2 separate regions of the Homo sapiens genome follow, and region 1 is linked to region 2. Evidence: promoter capture Hi-C in 16 types of primary human blood cells and fetal thymus (Javierre and others, 2016). All regions are on one chromosome and are shown on one strand. Each heading gives the region's core, a stretch centred on a gene start or on the middle of the fragment in contact. The rest is flanking DNA. Distances are from core to core; before and after follow the strand shown. Region 1 holds the start of LDHAL6A (lactate dehydrogenase A like 6A). Region 2 holds the start of SAA4 (serum amyloid A4, constitutive).

Region 1 (3,118 bases), core at 605-3,104, 220 kb after region 2:
GGGCTTTCACCGTTTTGCCCAGGCTGGTCTCGAACTCCTAAGATCAGGCAATCCGCCCGCCTCGGCCTCCCAAAGTGCTAGGGTTACAGCCGTGAGCCACCGCGCCCGGCCAACTCCTTAATATTTAATTTCATGATGGGGGTGCAAAACAATTAGGGGGAACATATCTACAAAGACTCTTGAGGGAGTGATAATGAAAAAAGATTGAGAAACACTGCTCTACATTTTATAAAAATTTGTCAATATGTATTACTGTATTAGGGTTCTCTAGAGGGACAGAACGAATAGGATAGCTATATATATAAAGGGGAGTTTATTGAGGAGTATTGACTCACACAATCACAAGGTGAGGTCCCACAACAATAGGCCGTCTGCAAGCTGAGAAGCAAGAAAGTCAGTCGGAGTTCCAAAGCTGAAGAACTAGGAGTCCAATGTTTGAGGGCAGGAAGCATCCAGCACAGGAGAAAGATGAAGGCTGGAAGACTTAGCCAGTCTAGTCCCTCCACGTTCCTCTGCCTGCTTTTATCCTAGACGTGCTGGCAGCTGACTAGATGGTGCTCACCCGGATAGAGGGTGGGTTTGCGTCTTCTAGCCTACTGACTCAAATGTTAATTTCCTGTGGCAACACCCTCACAGACACACCCAGGTTCAACACTTTGCATCCTTCAATCCAATCAAGTTGACACTCAGTATTAACCATCAAAATTACGTATTATGATTCACAAATGAGAAAACAATTAGGTAAAATGTGGTGGGAGAAGTAGAAACCTTGGTTTATTCCAGACTGATTTTCAATTCTACATTTTTGTTTTTTATTTTTGAGACGGAGTCTCACTCTGTCACCCAGGCTGGAGGGCAGTGGCATGATCTCGGCTCACCAAAACCTCCGCCTCCCGGGTTCAAACGATTCTCCTGCCCCAGCCTCCTGAGTAGCTGGGATTACAGGTGCGTGCCACCACACCCGGCTAATTTTTGTATTTTTAGTAGAGACGGGGTTTCGCCATGTTGGCCAGGCTGGTCTCGAACTCCTGACCTCAGCTAATCCACCCGCCTCGGCCTCCCAAAGTGTGGATTCTACATTTAACCACTTAATAATGAATTGAGCTTTCCCTTCATCTTGTAAAAATGGTTATCAATTGGCACTGCATTCATCAAATTCTTCAGGTTTCATATCTTATTTCCAAATTCCTTTTGCATACAGAGTTTTGTTGTTGTTTTGAGACAGGGTCTCACTCCGTCACCCAGGCTGGAGTGCAGTGGCACAATTTCGGCTTACTGCAACCTCCGCCTCCCAGGTTCACAAACAATTCTTGTGCTTCAGCCTCCCAGGTAGCTGGGATTACAGGGGTGCACCACCACGTCCAGCTAATTTTTGTATTTTTAGTAGAAACGTGGTTTCACGATGTTGGCCAGGCTGATTTCGAACCCCTGACCTCAGGTGATCCGCCCGCCTTGGCCTTCCAGAGTGCTGGGATTACAGGCGTGAGCCACCACGCTCGGCCCAGAGTTTTAAAATTTTACTTTTTCTACTTTAGCTCACATTTGAGGTGGTAAAAGTTAATCTTGAGGTCCCTTTCTCCTACAGGGCTGGGGGAAAATTTTCACGTGAGAGTCAAACAGTCCTTTTCAGATACATCCAGACAAGGTTTGGTTAGAAATAAAATTACTTGGGCTCTCTGGTGGATGGGTTCTAGGCAAACAACTCCGCCCAACAGCAGAGGCCCTGCACTGCGTTGTGCCTGCAGCACCTCGTGCGCCTTCTGCAGCCGGCCAACCACCTACACCGCAGCCCGCCCACCCGCACGCGGGGGCGGGGCGGGCAGGCAGAGGCGCAGGCGCGGTGCTTCGCAGCCCGCTTCCGGCCTCACACCTGCCAAGCATCACACCTGCCAAGCATCACACCTGCCAAGCATCACACCTGCCAAGCATCACACCTGCGATGCCTGCACGAGCTGGGTGCGGTCCGCGCAGCTGCAGTAAGGGGGCGACCCGGCGTCTGTTAGTCGGCGGTTCATCTCCTTCGTGCCTCGATGAGCTTTAACGCCATTTTCCTCCATTCTCTTTCTTCACCTCTTGAGTGAGTGGCCATGAGCTGGGCTGCAAGAGTCCTGGGGAGCAGCCAGAGAGCGGGCGCCGCGGGAGCGAATTGTTTTTGCCCAAGGATGGTTCTGTGTCTCCGCCAGGCGGCATGTGACCTGCTCGGGCGCGGGTGGCCCTTCACCCCTGTGAGTGTGGCCAGAAGTACCTCTCACCTGGACCTGCGGACCCCGGGCGCAGTCCTGGAGCTGAGAACTGGAGGTTGGGGGAACAGCAGGGTAAAGGGGAGAGAAAAGGGGGTCAGCTGCGGGACGGAGTGCCGTCCCAGCTGTAGTTTCATGTTTGGTGGAGCAACCCCTGTTCCTTTCCTCTCTCTCTCTCTTAATTCCTCTTAACTGTACTCACGCTTCCTTCTCCTTCCCCTGGTCCGCTTCATGGATGCTGAGCTGCCTGGCCAGAACCTACCCAGCTTCTTTGCTGGTCAGATTTGTCGGTCTTTTGTGTGTCTGCAGCACCTCCTTCCACACGGGCCCAGGAGTTCTCTATACGCGCTCTCACCGCAGGTCTTGGAATTCCAAGCCATTTCCAATTCCAGGTCTTGGAAATGGCTGTGCAATTTGTCTTCACTGTTAGGTTTCCAAGATGGCAACTATCAAGAGTGAACTTATTAAGAATTTCGCGGAAGAGGAGGCCATTCATCACAATAAGATCTCCATTGTAGGAACTGGATCGGTTGGTGTGGCTTGTGCTATCAGCATCTTATTAAAAGTAAGTTGTGTGCTCTGCACCACAGGGTTCACCTCAGTTGGAGGCGAGGCCACAGCGTATGGTTGTGGAGGTTGTGTCCAGTTCAAGGTGGTGAGTGGGGAGCCAGTGTGAGGGGCATCAGAGGAAAAGGTGCCCTTTTTTTAGTTGTTCACCCAGAGGGCGCTCCTTTTTAAAAATTGTATGATGATATCATGTGGGTTAGAAGCATCTCTGTGAAAGTATGTTGACATTTCACTTTCACGTAATGACAATATGAGGTACCCCTTTGCTTGATTTGGAAACTCAGCTCACAAAACAAACTGGAGAGAAATAG
Region 2 (2,880 bases), core at 181-2,680:
AAGTTAGGGCTTAATTTTCATAAGCTCTGCATCCCAAGCATTGGCCATTTGCTTGGGTACAGGATGGGATTTCTCTACTCTCTGCTAGGCATGTCTCAGTCTTGGAGTATAATTGTGAACTCAGTATATTCCCTGAGGTGGATGAGCTAAATAAACATCATGCCCTGAGAAATCTGCCATCTGTAAATTTCCGCAGTGGGAGATAACCCCCTGGAAGTTTTTATCCTTCTGCACTCTACACCAAGAGTACAGGCTGGGCCCAAAGCATCTTTAACCTCTCGTCTGGAAACCCCAAGGGAGGGTGATAAATCAGACCAGCCTAGAGGAAGAAACAGATACAGAAAACCACACTCCTGCTCTGACCTCTGTGTGGCTTCTCTAAGGAGCACTCACATCCAGTGAGTATGTGGCCCCTGCTCAGAATGAATCCTGGGTATGTGCCCTCCATCCTCCAGAGTTCTTACCTTGGAGAGCCTCCTTGAAAAACGAACGCCAGCTTTCACTGGTGACTCCCATGACCAAGGAGCAGAAAACAATGCCTGTGAAAAGCCTCATTGTGCTGAAGAGAAAGAAAGACAGGGGCAGAGGATCATAAAAAAAAACACAGATCTATGTTTTGAGGACTGAATTTCTTTCCTTTTTTTCTTTCTTTTTTTCCTTTTCTTTCTTTCTCCTTCCTTTCTTTCTTTCCTCCCTTTCTTTCTTTCTTTTTTTTTTCCTATTGCCCAGGCTAAAGTGCAATGATATGATTAAGGCTTACTGCAGCCTCGACCTTCTGGGCTCAAGTGATCCTCCCACCTCAGCCTCCTGAGTATTAAGGACTACAAACGTGCACCATCACACTCAGCTAATTTTTTTTTTTTTTTTTTTGGTAGAGACAAGGTCTTGGTATGTATGTTCGGCCCAGGCTAGTCTCGAACTCCTGGCCTCAAGCAATCTTCCTACCTCAACCTCCCAAAGGATTACAGGCATGAGCCACTGTGCCAGCCAAAGGACTGAATTTGAAAGACTAATTCCCCATTTCCATTTGTTTGTATGAGAATCATAACTGCATGAAAGATTGAAACGGGTTTTAAGAAGAAGCATAAACCCTTAATTCTCAGCCCAGATCTCTAGAAAGAATAAGAGGATTCCAACGTGTTATTTGGTCTGTGGTCAATTTGTCACCCAATACAGCAGACTAAAGTCAATCAAGAAGCATTTCCTGAGTTCCTACTCTCCTCAGCACTGACCCCGTAATGAGGTAGAAAACACAGTTTCTCTCCAATTGAAATTTGACAATTATGTGAGAAAAGGATCTCAAAAGAGTCAAATAAGAGAAATTACTCCTTGGAAGAAACCTCACCTGTGGACCTTTCTCCAGATGAAATTTCAGTAAAGGCAGAGCTGCTGGTATCTTCTGGCCGTGGAGCTATAGTTGGTACCTCTGCTGGCTTTGGCATTAATGGGAGAACGGTTTTAAATCCAACAACCTGCCTTGCCAAAGTCCTTTTTGCTCAATTCTTTGGGTATTTTAAAAATTAACATATTGGGTAATAGTGTTTCCTTATCTAGAAGTAGTTTTCCAAATTGGGTCATCAAGGTATTTATTTTCTGGCAGTTTTTCTTAATTGCCACTTTTCCCTCTTTTTAGTTTCCTGTATCACAGAAGAGTTGTATTTGCAAAATCCAGTGTGGGAAGACAGAGGTCTTTCTCCACTTTCTTCTCTTTGTGTCTTTCCATTCTTAACTGTTTAGTAGGAGGTCTTCCCAAAAAATTGCACATAGATATTATGCTGTAGGAAGTGATCAATATTATTAGCAAAAGAGATGTTTGCTTGTCTCTTGTGACTTCTCTCTAAAGAATGTAAGGACACAGAACAAGCAAGACTTGACTGTACCATTCATGGGATGAGGTAATGATTCTGGGAGAATACAAGGACAGGAATAACACCAGAAGATCAAGGGTGAAGGCCTTTGAGGCATAAAAACTCTTTTTTCATATAAATATGTATTATTCTGCACTTTCTTTTAAACTTACTATTTATTGGAAGTCTTTCCATGTCGGGCTTGTTGCTTTTTTTTTTTTTTTTTTTACAGCTACACAGTATTCCATTGCATGGATGGACCATAATTTATACAATATTAATGGCTGTTTTGACAGTTATTAACCTTTTGATATTACAAATAATGGTGCATTTATTAACCTTGTACATATGTCTCTTGCACATGTACAAATATATCTCTAGGATAAATTCCTACAGAAGAAACTCCATGGTGAAAAAGTATCAGATTTTATAAATTTTTTGTTTGTTTGTTTGAGACAGAGTCTCACTCTGTCCCCCAGGCTGGAGTGCAGTGGCATGATCTCAGCTCACTGCAACCTCCACCTCCGGGGTTCAAGAGATTCCCCTGCCTCGGCCTCTTGAGTAGCTGGGATTATAGGCACATGCCACCACATCAGGCTAATTTTTCTATTTTTAAGAGAGACGGGATTTCGCCATGTTGGCCAGGCTAGTCTCGACCCACTTACCTCAAATGATCTGCCCACCTCGGCTTCCCAAAGTGCTAGGATTACAGGCATGAGCCAACGTCCCTGGCCCTAGATTTTATAAATTTTTATATGTTGCAAATTGCCTTCCATGAGGGCTGTATCAATCTCTACTCCCACCAGAAATGAGTGAAAGAACTTGGTTCCACATTGTCTCTCACACAGTATACTCTCAAACTTTTTGGTCTTTGAAATTGTGAGTAAAATAAAACTCAAAGTAATTTTAATTTACATTTCTCTTATTATGATTTTGGTTTCACATCTTTCCACATGTTTAAGAGCTATTTCTATTTTCTAGGAATTGTGAATTCATACCTTCATATCAAAGTAGTCATTTTTTACTGGTTTAT

The links. Contacts are between HindIII fragments. The CHiCAGO score rates a contact against its expected background, and 5 or more counts as called.
Region 1: a contact is called between the fragment with the promoter of LDHAL6A here and the fragment with the promoter of SAA4 in region 2, in 8 of 17 cell types (M2 macrophages, naive CD8 T cells, total CD4 T cells and 5 more). The highest score is 8.2, in M2 macrophages.

What each region holds. Positions count from the first base shown.
Region 1 is chr11:18,454,002-18,457,119 of GRCh38, forward strand. It overlaps LDHAL6A (lactate dehydrogenase A like 6A), which reads left to right and starts at 1,855. Exons shown (of 7, transcript NM_144972.5): 1 at 1,855-2,805. The coding sequence starts at 2,680. The HindIII fragment of the contact is 8,824 bases long and covers 1-3,118 here.
Region 2 is chr11:18,235,372-18,238,251 of GRCh38, forward strand. It overlaps SAA4 (serum amyloid A4, constitutive), which reads right to left and starts at 1,431. Exons shown (of 4, transcript NM_006512.4): 1 at 1,346-1,431; 2 at 465-559. The coding sequence starts at 555. It overlaps SAA2-SAA4 (SAA2-SAA4 readthrough), which reads right to left. Exons shown (of 6, transcript NM_001199744.2): 4 at 465-559. It also overlaps a transcript of SAA2 not described here. The HindIII fragment of the contact is 10,895 bases long and covers 1-2,880 here.